Linked DNA regions of Homo sapiens: all the other regions are linked to region 1. Evidence: promoter capture Hi-C in 16 types of primary human blood cells and fetal thymus (Javierre and others, 2016). All regions are on one chromosome and are shown on one strand. Each heading gives the region's core, a stretch centred on a gene start or on the middle of the fragment in contact. The rest is flanking DNA. Distances are from core to core; before and after follow the strand shown.

Evidence for each region. Contacts are between HindIII fragments. The CHiCAGO score rates a contact against its expected background, and 5 or more counts as called.
Region 2: a contact is called between a fragment that was not itself captured here and the fragment with the promoter of RAD54B in region 1, in 5 of 17 cell types (naive CD4 T cells, activated CD4 T cells, total CD4 T cells and 2 more). The highest score is 7.0, in naive CD4 T cells.
Region 3: a fragment that was not itself captured here is called in contact with the fragment with the promoter of RAD54B in region 1 in 1 of 17 cell types (activated CD4 T cells); the score reaches 5.1 in activated CD4 T cells.
Region 4: a fragment that was not itself captured here is called in contact with the fragment with the promoter of RAD54B in region 1 in 1 of 17 cell types (monocytes); the score reaches 6.0 in monocytes.

What each region holds. Positions count from the first base shown.
Region 1 is chr8:94,473,431-94,476,839 of GRCh38, forward strand. RAD54B (RAD54 homolog B) reads right to left here and starts at 1,685. Exons shown (of 15, transcript NM_012415.3): 1 at 1,571-1,685. RefSeq lists an enhancer at 1,418-1,647. The HindIII fragment of the contact is 4,488 bases long and covers 977-3,409 here.
Region 2 is chr8:93,984,835-93,988,243 of GRCh38, forward strand. No RefSeq gene overlaps it. Among named protein-coding and RNA genes, the nearest start is that of PDP1, 70 kb to the left of the region's middle. RefSeq lists enhancers at 966-1,085, 1,156-1,205. The HindIII fragment of the contact is 1,955 bases long and covers 878-2,832 here.
Region 3 is chr8:94,073,392-94,076,800 of GRCh38, forward strand. No RefSeq gene overlaps it. Among named protein-coding and RNA genes, the nearest start is that of CDH17, 130 kb to the right of the region's middle. The HindIII fragment of the contact is 5,091 bases long and covers 1-3,409 here.
Region 4 is chr8:94,842,175-94,845,583 of GRCh38, forward strand. It overlaps INTS8 (integrator complex subunit 8), which reads left to right. Exons shown (of 27, transcript NM_017864.4): 10 at 173-314. Among named protein-coding and RNA genes, the nearest start is that of INTS8, 21 kb to the left of the region's middle. The HindIII fragment of the contact is 2,342 bases long and covers 631-2,972 here.

The DNA.
Region 1 (3,409 bases), core at 435-2,934:
TCCATGTGTCTCAGTTTCCTCATCTTTAAGAGGGGGTACCATAATCATGCTTACACACCGGACTGTTGGGAGGATTAAATGAAATATGTAAAGCACTTAGAACAAAACTTGACACATAGTAAGCACTCAATGTTATCTGTTATAATTAGTATTATCGGAGAGTAGAAATGATGAAGGTCCTGTGAAGGAGATAGAGAAGGGGTAGTTCAACATACAGGACAATGACCAGAATCTTTGGGTTCGTCTGGGCTTTAAAGAGAGGTATGTGCAACCATCAAACGTCGAGGATGCAAGAATGTAAGTACACCAACTCTACCAAGAACCAGCAACGGTCTCTCCCTGCTGTTGCTGCTTGTCGACTTCCAACTACATTAGGTAGTAATTATTTCACTTCATGCCTTAAATTGCTCCTTTGAGACTCCGGCTATATAGATGGTTCCTAATTTAGGACGGTGTCACTTAGAATTCTTCGACTTTTAAGAAAGCCATGAGCATTCAGTAGAAACTGTACAAGTAACCACACAACCGTCTGTGTTCATGATTTTGCCCAACTGTAGATTAAGGTAAGTGTTCTGAGCATGTTTAAGGTAGGCTAGCGCAGCCATAAAAAGGAATGAAATCATGTCCTTTGCAGCAACATGGGTGCAGCTGGAGGCTATTATCCAAAGCGAATTAAAGCAGAAACAGAAAATCAAATATTGCATGTTCTCACTTATAAATGGGAGCTAAACATTGGGCATTCATGAACATAAAGATGGCAACAATAGACAGTGGAGACAACTAGAAGGGAGAGGAAAGGAGGAGCAAGGGTTCAAAAACTATTGGGTAACATGCTCACTACCTGGGTGACAGGATCAATCGTATCCAAACCTCAGCACCACGTAATATACCGATGCAACAAACCTGCACATGTACCCCCAAATCTAAAATAAACAGCTGAAAATAATTTTTTTGATAACAAAAGTAGGCTAGGCCAAGCTTTAATACTCAGTAGGTTAGCTGTGTTTTAAATCCATTTTCCATTTGGGATATTTTCAACCCCGTAGTAAGTCGAGAAGCATCTGTTCCTACCTAGAAAATCTTCCATAAGGTAATCGATTAAAAGGTTTTAAGGAAATACAAGAAAAACCTGACCAGTGAAGAGGTAAAAGCCCCTAAAGAAGGCGTACCGACACTCTCCAGGACGCTCGCAGAGCCTTCACCCCCTGGCCCTGGGGAAGGAAATTCCCAGTGCAGGAGTGAGGGAGAGACCCAAAAGCCAAGAGGAGCCTGCGCAAAGCGACCGCAGTGGCGGCCCCAGGGGCCACTGCCCAGAACCATCCCTCCCACACAAACGCACAACCCTAAACCCCCACCGCCCGCCCTTCGCTCCAAGGCCCCCGGGGCCAGCAACCAGGGCGTCCCTGGCACTTCAGACCAAAGCTGCAGGCCCGCAGAAGGCCACTTCGGTCGCTCCTGCCGCCTTCCCTCCCTCCTCCCTCGTTGGCCTGCTCCGGCGCCACTCCCTGCTTTGTCCCGCACGAGCCTACAGGCTGTCGCAGCCTCCCGAGCTTCCCCCTGCAGGACGCACCGGCGAAAATCTGACAGAAACCACTGGCCCTGCAAAGAAGTCCTTCTGGTAACCAGCTATCCCCTCGCCGCCGGAGAAGCTCAAGGATCCCGCCTCGGCGAAGCCAATCGCGGACGAGCCCGCCGCGCGTGCGCACTACCTAGCCGCTGCACTGCCCTGTCCTGCCCTACTCTGATTGGACGACCCTACTGCATCACTGCGCATGTATCTTTGCGTTTGGCTTTAAATGCTTCCAAGTTTGATTCAAGTTTACGGTTCAATTAAAAAAATACTGGTTTAGTGCCTACTTTCAGACACAGTGTAGATGCCGAGGCTACAGACCTCACCATCTGCGTGGATAAGTAATAAATACGGTATGATTCGGTGTGTGCGATAATAGAAATGCGTGCATCGCAGAAGTATACGATATCCTATTGGTTATTCATTCATCCGAAAAAACATTGACTTAGCGGTGCCTGCAGGATAATTTTCAAACTCTTTGTTAGGTTCTGGGAATATAGAAACGAATACGTGATTATTAGGCTCTCAGAAAAGGGGAGCCGCCTCCGGACTTGGAAAAGCATTAAAGCATGTTAAGTAGGAAAGTTACATCATTCAATGAGTATTTACTGAGCACCTTCTAAGTGCTAGGCGGTAACACAGTCAACTATCCCTGAAAAATGGTATTAGAAAGGCTAATCTGAAAGGAGAGAGAATGGCTAAAGGTTGTTTATTGAGTTTTATCCAGCAGTTTGACAAAAAGTAAAAGCTAAAAAATATCAAGGGTGAAATGAAGATGTGAAACAATGGGAACTCTTGGGCTGCTGGTAGGAGTGTAAATAGGTACAGCCATTTAAAAGAGTAATTTGAGGCTGAGAGCGGTGGCTTGTGCCTGTAATCCCAGTACTTTGGGAGGCCGAGGCGGGCGGATCACTTGAGGTCAGGAGTTCGAGACCAGCCTGGCCAACATGGTGAAACCCGGTCTGTACTAAAAATACAAAAATTAGCTGGTTTTGGTGGAGCGCGCCTGTAATCCCAGCTACTCAGCAGACTAAGGCGGGAGAATCGCTTGAACCTGGGAGGTGAAGGCTGCAATGAACCGAGATGGTGCCGCAGCACTCCAGCCTGGGCAGCAGAGAGACCCTGTTTCAAAAAAAAAGAGTAATGTGCTTAAGGAGCTTTTATCCTGGGGACTTTTTCCAGTCATAAAGAGCACCTCATAGGTTGAGTTGTGCTTTTGGCAGCTCCTGGAGCCAGCGTTACAAGAATTTGAAATGGGGACCTGCCAAGGTTGGGCACCTTAGTAAACCGCACCCCCCTCTTCTTTGGACTGGGACACATAAAGAGTAAGGGTAACCAGAAAACAAGCTAGCTTCATAGTGTCTGCAGCCTACCTTAATATCATCTGGGGAGTTCAGAAAATCTAAAACAGATTGGCTAAAGGTGACCTGGGACATTCCTCTTGCAGATTTGCATCTGGTTTGATCCTTCACTTCAGATCATTACTCACATATCAACTTGTCAAAGGGCTTTATCTGACAGTGCATTGCTCTCTTGTCTCATCTTGTATCTCCCTTACCCTGCTTTATAGAGTTCATCACACTTTCCATTCCCTAACATATACTTATTTGTTAATTGTTTTTCTATTACTCTCAGAATATAAGCTACATGAGGGCAGGATCTTTGCTTTATTCTCTGCTGTACCCATGTGTTTAGAATAGTACTAGTCTTTTTTGTTTTGTTTTGTTTTTTGAGACGGAGTCTTTCTCTGTCACCCAACTGGAGTGCAGTGGCATGATCTTGGCTCACTGCAACCTCTGCCTCCTGGGTTAAAGCAATTCTTCTGCCTCAGCCTCCCAA
Region 2 (3,409 bases), core at 605-3,104, 490 kb before region 1:
ATCTCCTGTTTTCCGTGGCACTGGGCATTAAACAGTGTCACAGATGGCTTCACTAGGGGATTATGGACAACATGAAGAGATCCAAACATGTCTGTTTATTTACCCCTTCTCTTGAGAACAGCAATTGTGGGATCAATTGGGAGGCAAAATGGTATAAGAAAAGAACTCTGGCTTTGGAGTCCAGACAAATCCAGCTTCAAAACCTTGTGCCTTAATATACGTTTCTATGATGATTTAGTTGACCTCTGAGCCTCAGTTCCCTTGTCTGTATAATCAAGATGGCAGTGCAATATTATGCAGGGTTTCTTAAGTTACAAGTGACTAAAACCCAACTTGAACTTGTTTAATCCATAAAAAGGGAATCTATTAGCTCATGTGACCCAGCCAAGAAAAAGCCTAGCCTCAGAGTTGGCTGGACTCAGGGACTGGATCCCTACCAGGTAAAGTTCTTGTCTTTGCTTACCTCTGGAAAGGTAATTTTCATAATAAATAGCAATAAAAGTGGTAATAATAAAAGGGTTTTATTCTCTCCTTTTGAAGATGGGCTGCATTCACTGGTGAGGAACATGTTCTAGGCTCAAATCTTTCCAGATGGAGACCTCTGTAGACATTTCCAAGAAATGACTCTGATTCCTTAGCCACAGACTCTTGCCCAGTTTAGGCCAATCACAGGCCAGTGGGAGGAGGTACTACACGTGGCTCAGCCTGCATCATGGGACAGCCCTGTGGGCCGGTAGTGGCATAGTGAGGCTTTGGGGAAATCACTACAAGTTGTCCCAACCTGTCCACTCCCTCACAGCACTTTTGTGATTTGAAGGAAGCCACACAGTCACATAGCTCCTCGAATAGTCTCTGTGGTGATTTTCCTCCTAGAGGAAGCTTTGGGGAGAATGTGGGCACCTCAGCCTCTCTGTTCCTTTGACCCTTCAGACTCATTAAGTGCAGTGTGGTTCTTACAGTTCTCTCCGTGTAGCTTCCTGACTCACTGCATCTGCAGATGGCCCCACCCCAGACCTGAAGCATGGCAGCGCCTTTGGTATCTCCAGGGCTCCCACAGCCAACGTGTCTTCTACCACAGGCATGCAGCTCTTTTTCTGCATCCTGTTTCATCCCTGTGGCTGTCACTGTGGTCTGTTACCTCACAGCCTCCTAAACAGGGGCCAGCTCTGATCACATTGGTCTGCTGCTTCCAAGTGACAGTGGCTCTCCATTATCTCTCAAATTAGTGGGAGACTCCAGGGCTTGGCATTCAAGGACTGCCACGATCTTATCCCAAACAACTTCCAAGCCACTCTTGCGGGCATTGGGTGTTTAGATCCTGCTACTGTAGGACAAACAAGTAGGAAAGCCTTTGGGGACCAGTGTAAGGAAATGAGCAGGAAGGAGTGAGACTGGCTGGTGGCAGGTTGCTAGGCAGCCATACAGCAAGAAAAGCAACCTGCATGAGGCAGATGATCCTAGAAGCCAGTGAGCACTCCCGCATTCTTTGATGTTTGTTTTAGCTAAGATCAGCCAACTTAGGGTACTAACCAATGGAATTTTGTGAACCCATTTAACTCTGATATTTAATATGTTGAGGCTCAAGACATTTTTCCCTCTTTGGTGGTGAAAAAACCCATAAACTACTATTGTTTTTACTGGGGAATGTGTATGGGCGATTGGTGGGAGTGGTGTAGAGTGGGAGAGATTTCCCAAGTAGCAAAAAAGAAGACTAAAATGAAAGCCATTATTCTGCTTTTCAGAACTAGTTGCTTTTATTTCATGATGGTTGCCTGGAGACTTTGTTTATATGTATTTATAAAGAAATAAATGCTGAACTTAGGCCTAGAAATCCAAATGAAAAACATGTCATTCTCAGCTTTGAGATGTGGAGTGTTTGCTCTACGAGGATAAGAGGCCATGCTTGCCTGAATTCTTCTAATTTAAGACTCTCTTTTTAATCTGCTGATGAAGTTTTACATATGTATACACACACATATATATACTCCTCCCAAACACACACACACATATTTTAAACATTTTAAGTTGTCTTTTAAATGAACAATTACTTATTGCCAACAGGAACTCATTTCATCTTAGGAATGCTAGCAAATACTCCTGGCACCTAAGCATGATTAATATAGAGAGGAACATATGAGACACAATGCAAGGGTGGCTGATAATCCAGTTCCTGCTTGTCACAGGCCTTGGCTCAGCTCAGCTGGTCATGCAGATGAAGGCCGAGGAGATGGGCAGCAACCAGAAGGGCTCCAGGGTTGGCATCTGTGCATCAGACGACTCATAGGTCAAAACCAGGTTTTTCAAACCCTGCTCTGGCTAAAAAAAGTCCCAATTTCCCTGTGCCTCACATCCTGTTCTGTTTTCATGGAAAAAAAAATTCAAAAGAAAAGCACATTGGTTGATTTCCCAGACTTGCTCTTTTTTTATTTCCTGGTTCTGAAAATTTTCTTTTTCACTCTTACTTTTATAAGCCTGCAATTAATTCAGCATTTGAAATGTGAGCTTCTGAAACAAACTCCCATGAATGCTGCATAACCATGTTTGGTTTTGCTTTTCTCTTAAACTCCCCTTCTGGTTTTTGTTAACATTAAAAACACACACACACACAAAAGATAGACGGGGACTGGGGCAGGGATTTTCCAATGTGTTTTCAGAACAACCACTTATAGTCAAACATCAGCAAGGCCAGTTATTCTAATATTGCAGTAATGACTTCCAGGCACCAAAAAAGAAGGCATGTTGCAATAACTTTAAGACAAATTGCTGATAACATAATCATTGTCTTTTCCTCCTAGAGAAGTAAGAATTTTCCAAGCACTCTTAAGGACTGTAAGCTTTTCTGTGCCCTTACAAATCATCAAACTTTAATCCTCATTAGATACTGGTCAATATTTCCAGAGGAGAGGAAGTGCCACATGACTTTAAGTATCAAGCTTATGATTACCAACAAAGGAAAACTACATACATTACATGAGTGGTAGCTGCACCGTATGCCTGGACTATAGCATGCATGTTCACCTACTCATTCATTCATTCATCCCACAGTTCTAATCAGCAATTAACATAAACAGGATTCCTGTTCTAATCGATTTTTCAGGCTGATGTGGGAGGCGATAGGAGAATGTAGATAGACATTGAATAAGTATTTACAAGTGCACTTAGTTTTACAGAGAAGGGAACAGTTCTCTATGTGATAGAACTAGCCTAGTCTAGGAGCATGTGAAAGATTGCTGCAGAGAAGGCCACCAGCCTTTTCTCCCAACCCTCTAAGCACCTGCCACTCCAAGAGATGGGTCTATTTCCCCTCCCCTTGAACCTGAACTGGCCCTGTGATTTGCTTTGATCAATAGAATGTGACAGAAAATATACCCTGTGACTTCCAAGCATAGTCATTAAGATGCCTTGTAGC
Region 3 (3,409 bases), core at 471-2,970, 400 kb before region 1:
CTAAGTAAGCCCTTTCTCATTCAATCTTAGAACAACCCCACAAGGAAACCAGTATTCCTTCCCCACTTCATAGATGTGAAATCTGAGGCTTGAAGGGATTCAGTGGATTTCCCAAAGTCCCACAGTGAGAGACAGAACCAGGGTGGTAAAATGGGCAGTCTGATGGTAGAGAGGTTACTGTAAACAGGAGGCAGCCAACTATGGCCCATGGGCAAATCTGGCCCACTGCTTGTTTTTGTAAATAAAGTTTTATTGAAACATAACCATGCCCATTTTTTTGCTATCATCTATGGCTGCTCTTAGGCTAAAAAAGCAGACTTAGGTAGTTGTGACAGAGACCACATGGCCCACACACCCAAAAGTGTTTGCTATCTGATTCTGCAAAAAAAAGTTTACCAAACCCTGCTCTCAATCACTACTCTAAAAAAAAGAAAAACAAAAAAAACCTCTTTCAATTAAATCAGAGCCCCCCAGAGGACACAGACTGCCTAATTTATTCCTGCCATCCTCTTAGCCTCTAACCTAGGAGATTCCATTATTGATGGTTACACTTCAACAAACTTTAAAATGCTTACTCAATTAAATAGATTTAAACTGTATTTAAACAATCCTGAACCTTCTTCTAAAAATGTAAAAATCCAGGCAAAAATAATATTTGCTGCAACCATCATTAAGCTAGATAAATCCCAGAGGTCAAGACCAATGGCTCCAACAGTGTGACAAGGACAACTCTAAATTAAAGTGCATGCTACATCTGTAGCAACCTCTTCTTTAAAAATGTGTTGTTTCTGTGAGTAGCTCTGCAGTGAGCTGCCCGGAATTTAAAAAGACAATATATCTTTCAGCACTTTGGAAACTAAAAAGTACACATAAGCAAAACCTCAAGGAGACAAGAATAAATAAGAAAAGCCTACACTAAATCCCTGGCATCGTGCAGTCAGCCCGGGAAAAAGAAGCAAAGGGTGAGGGATGCAGTGGACACCTCTCTTCAGCAGTGGGGAGGGGATGCGGCTGTTGGGCTCTCAGTCAGACTGGCAAATGGATGCCATTTTTGAGTGGGGCCTCAGAGCCAGGTGAGACCACATCCCAACCCCACCCAGTGTTTTCCATGGAGTTTGCCCAGTTTGGGGTCATGAGGGCTGCAGTGGTATAGGAAGGACACTGGACTAATATAGGAGATCTGGGGTCACTTCCCAGCTGTTTGATCCCCTGGTGACTTCCTGGCTGTGTCACCTGGCTATCTGGCCTGGAACCTCACACAGCAAGTGAGTGAATGAGTGTCAGTGAGTATGGGATGGACCGCTAGTACTAAAGCCAGATAGACCTGTATTTAAATCCCAGCTCAGCCTTTACTAGCGCCAGTGTCTTGTACAAGTAATTTATAAATTAGGTTAAACATTCTTTAAAGGCAGGGACTGCAGCTTATTCATCATTGCATTCCCCTACCTAGGAAACAATAGGTGCTCAATGTTGAATGAATGAACCTCTTTCAACCTTGGGTGTTACTGTGAACATTAAATGAGAAAATGAATATCAAGCCCAAGCATTTAGTAAGTGCTCAGTAAGTATAAATGATGATGACAGTGGGACTCTAATGTTAGTGATGTAAAATCTGCTTTTTTGTGCCTCAATTTCCTTCACTATAAAATGGAATAATAATTGCTTTATAGGATCACGTTTGTAAGAAATTAGGATAAAATGAATACAAAGCACTTTTTCCTCCCATCGAAGTTTTTACCTATCTCTATTTTAGCTCTTGTTATACTGCATGACAATTACCTTTCAATTGTTCTCCCACTCAGCACAGTTGCTGGAAAATAGCAGGTGCTCAATAAATGTATGCCACCTTAATTGCCTTTGTAATACATACAGAGTAGCATAATCATGAAAAATGACACTATACAAAGATAACTGTCAATTTTGAAGGCAGTGAACATTCTAGTAATGCCATAAAGAATCTTTCTGAACAGAAAGCAAGTTTACAAACTGTGCATTTAATGCCAATGCATAAATGTATTAATATTCTCCTGTCCTTGCCAATTTCTGGGGGATTTCCCATCTATAGAGTCAGCATTTCAGATCAGTGTGCCTTATAGATTGCGGTTCACATCTTTCCTGAAGTGGAAAATCATTCTTGGCTTTTGTCCAAGATTCTTACTTCTTTAGTTTTATTTAAGTGGTTTCTAATTTGGTTTATTTCATAAATTACGACAGTATACTGATCTTCCAGGTCATAAGTAAAGGTATTTCCCTCACAAAAGCCTACTAAGAACTTCAAAGCAGTTCAGACATTTCCATCCATCACCCGTCACCTTCTCTCACTTCCAACTGGTCATCCAGTCCCATGACATCTTTTTAGCTGAGCCAGATATGAGCAAACATTTCAAGAATCTTTATGAAACTTAAAATGGAGCTAATTTACTGCATTTGTAAATTTTGCTAAAAAAATGAAATAATTAAGGCCCTCTCAGCTACAGTAAAATGTGGACATTGTGAAGGAATAAGACTTATACTCAGCCTAGTAGAAAATGACAAACATGCTCAGGTATTGATTAGCACAAAGCTAGGGAGTAGCAAGGCAATGCGTTTTGACTCATTGTTGGCAGACATGGTAATCAATCAAACCGTACCAAAGTTCTGAATCTTTTTCTATGTGATGTGAAACAAATGACTCCTATGCAGCAGCATGCAAGTCCTGTTGCCTTCTCTGCAGCTCTGTTCTTCTTACCCACTCCTGAAAGCACTTCCAAATGCAAGGGAGCTAGATAGCCATTCAACTGGGAGAACCTGGAGACCACGCTAATTTTTAAGTTAGTTATTGGCAGTACTAGTACACACTAGTAACAAGCTGATAGTAATTAGTTATAATTACTATAGACCATCTTTCCATCTTGCGACTGATTGCAACACATTAGTGTGTTCTAACTGCGTAAGAATCGTCCAGAAATATTAAGATAATTGAATAGAATAGATAGGCACTACTATCGTCTGAATATTTGTGTCCCTCCCAAATTTATACGTTGGAATCCTAACGCCCAAGGTGATAGTAACTAGGAGGTGGGGCCTTTTGAGAGGTAATTAGGCCACCAGAGCAGAGCCCCGGTGAATGGGATTGGTGCCCTTATAACAGGCCCCAGAGCGCTCTTTCACTCTCCCACCATGTGAGGACGGTGAGAAGGTGCCAACTATGAACCAGGATGCGAGCTCCCACCAGATGCTGAGTCTACTGGAGGCTTCATCTTGGACCTCCCAGGCTTCGGAACTGTGAGAAAAAAATTTCTGTTGTTTATAAGCTACCTGTTTATGGCATTTTGTTATAGCAGCCTAAATGTACTAAGCCACCCGGAGTGCTCAGCCTGCTACCAGGCTGTTTTGTCTGGAGGGTAGATATTTATTTTCCCTGGTAAAC
Region 4 (3,409 bases), core at 552-3,051, 370 kb after region 1:
ATTCTGCTTTCTTTCTCCCCATGATTTGGTATATATTTATTGGTATGCTTGAATATTCTAAAATCTTACCTCTTAAGAATAAATGGCTCATTCTTGTGAATATAGTTGTATAATATACACCTTTCTTTTGTAGTAAAAATAACATTAGTTGATCTACTTTTGTATTCTACAGAAATGAAGCTCTAGATGAAATCTGTTTTAAAGTTTGTGCCTGTAATACAGTCCGTGATATACTGGAAGGCAGAACAATTAGTGTTCAATTTAACCAGCTATTTCTTAGACCAAATAAAGAGAAAATAGACTTTCTTCTTGAGGTATGACATGTTTTTCTTTCCCCTTTTGATTTATAATTTGCTTTAAGCTTACCAGTGACCTCTTAATTGCCAAATCCAGTTCCTTTTTTCCTGTCTGCCTTGCGTTTCTGTGCCTGACAATTGGCACTTTTGACAGACTATGCCCTTCCGCCTGGTCTTCTGCTGTAGCTCTTTTTCTAGTTCGCTCCATGTTTCTTCAGCATCTTTATTGGATTCTCCTTAGTCCTTCATTGACTTCTCTATTGCTCTTCCTTTAGTATTTCTGTTCATAGAACTTTTGTCCTTGGCTCACTCATCATTTTTTATTTACTTCCAAAGCTTCACTCATCTGTTTCATCACCTGTTTACTAAGAACTCCCAAATCAAGCCTCTTGTCTGTCATGTGTGCTGTGGAATCTGTGTTTCTACTGGATCACTCTACTTCTTTCTTAACAGTCTTAATGTTAGAGACATTGAGAGAAGTACATAAAGCACAGATAATACCACTTACTTCCAAAAATACAACGTTGCCAGCACTCTAGAAGCCTTTGTTGTGGTCTTTACAACCTCCTCTACCTTCCCTTGAGGTAGCTACTGCCCTGGCTTTTGTGATCATAATTTTCTTGCTTTCTTTTATATTTGTATCACCTCTGTATGTATCCTTAAAGAACATTCTTTAATTTGCCTATTTTGAACTTCATATAAATGGAATCATACAATGTGTATTCATCATCTTCTTTCACTAAAGAGATTTATTTGTGAGATTTATTCAAGTTGTATATAAATAACAATTTTTTTCATTGCTTTAAGGTGTTAGAGCCTGGGTGCAGTGGCTCACACCTGTAATCTCAGCACTTTGGGAGGCCAAGGCGAGTGGATCACAAGGTCAGGAGTTCAAGACCAGCCTGGTAAACATAGTGAAACTCCGTCTCTACTAAAAATACAAAAAATTAGCCGAGCGTGCTGGCAAGTGCCTGTAATCCCAGCTACTTGGGAGGCTGAGGCAGGAGAATCGCTTGAAACTAGGAGGCAGAGGTTTCAATGAGTGGAGATTACGCCACTGCACTCCAGCCTGGGCAACAGTGAGAGACTCCATCTCAAAAAAAAAAAAGTTAGAATATTATATGGACCACGCCACAATTTCTTCAGTCTTATGATGGGGGACATTTGTGTGTTTTATAGTTTTTGGCTGTATACACATATGATGGAGGGACATTTGTGTTGTTTATAGTTTTTGCCGCTTGGAACATACTTGTACATATATCTAGGTGTGCATACGTACCAGTTTATGTTACATACCTAGGGAATAATATATCTGCAACATTAATTTTTAAAAACCAAGTGGCTTATAACCACCAGCATGCCTGAGTGTTCTCATCAGTCAACATCCTTGTTAACATTTGATATTGTCAGATCGCCTGTGAGGTGGTTGTATAACAGTACCTCATTGAGGTTTTCATTTCTACAACTCTTCATTTAATTTTTACTCATGGATTTTGTTTTTTGAGGTACCTTTTCCAAGTGTTATGCCTCTTTTTTTTTTTGAGATAGAGTTCTGCTTTTTTTTTTTTATTTTTTTATTTTTTGAGATGGGGCCCCCTCTGTTGCCTGGCCAGGCTTTAGTGCAGTGGCGTGATCTCGGCTCACTGCAACCTCCGCCTCCCAGGTTCAAGCGATTCTCCTGCCTCAGCCTCCTGAGTAGCTAGGACTACGGGCGTGCGCTACCACGCCTGGCTAATTTTTGTATTTTTAGTAGAGACAGGGTTTTGCCATGTTGGCCTGGCTGGGCTCAAACTCCTGACCTCAGGTTATCTGCCTGCCTTGGCCTTCCAAAGTGATAGGATTACAGGTGTGAGCCACCGTGCCTGGCCAGAGTTCTGCTCTTGTTGCCCAGGCTGGAGTGCAGTGGTACAATTTCAGCTCACTGCAACCTCCACCTCCCAGTTTCAAGTGATTCTCCGGCCTCAGCCTCCGGAGTAGCTGGGATTACAGGTGCCCACCACCACGCCCTGCTAATTTTTGTATTTTTAGTAGCGACGGGGTTTTGCCATTTTGGCCAGGCTGGTCTTGAACTCCTGACCTCAAGTGATCCACCCACTTTAGCCTCCCAAAGTCCTGGGATTACAGGCATGAGCCGTGCCCGGCCATGTTATGTCTCATTTTTCTATTATATTGTCTGTTCTTTGGAAGGAGCTTTCTTTTTTGTAGGAGATCTATATATATTCTCTTTTTTACCAATTTTAAATATTGCAGATATCTTCACTGAGTTTGACTTTTAGTTTTTCTTTTTTTTTTTTTTTTGTTTGAGACGGGTCTCACTCTATCACCCAGTTGGAGTGCAGTGCTGTGATCTCAGTTCACTGTAACCTCCACCTCCTGGGTTCAAGCCATCCTCCCACCTCAGCCTCCTGAGTAGCTGGGACTACAGGCATGTGCCACCACGCCTGGCTAATTTTTTTTATTTTTGGTAAAGATGGGGTTTTGTCACGTTGTCCAGGCTGGGCTCGAACTGTTGAGCTCAGGTGATCCACTCACCTTGGCTTCCCAAAGTGCTGTGATTACAGGCATGAGCCACCACGCCCAGCTTAGTTTTCTTTATATTGTTCCAAAGCTCCTAAATTTAATATCAAATTTACCGATTTTTTTCCGTTGTAGTGATTTCTGTGTGTTGTTTAAGAAAGCTTTTTCCTATTGTGTCATGAAGATATTCTTCTATTATTATCTTCTAAAAGCTTTATAGCATAGCCTTCCTTTCACGTTTAGGTCTTTGATCAACCTACAGTTGATTTTTGTGTGAAGCAGGAAGTGTGCCAGCACCATTTACTGAAAGGTTAATTTTTTTCCCACCAATCTCTAGGGCCACCTCTATTGTATGCCGGGTGTTTATACATGTATGGGCCTGTTTCTGAGCCATTTTATACCACTTTTCTATTTGTCTATCCATACCTTATTATGTCCATGTCCTGATACCATCGAGAGCAAGTTCTACCTTGTTTTCAAGGTTGTATTGGTTATTCTTGTCCCTCATTCTGTTGCCCAGGCTGGAGTGCAGTGGCACAATCTTGGCTCACTGCAACCTCCGCCTCCCGCGTTCAAGTGACTCTTCTGTGTCAGCC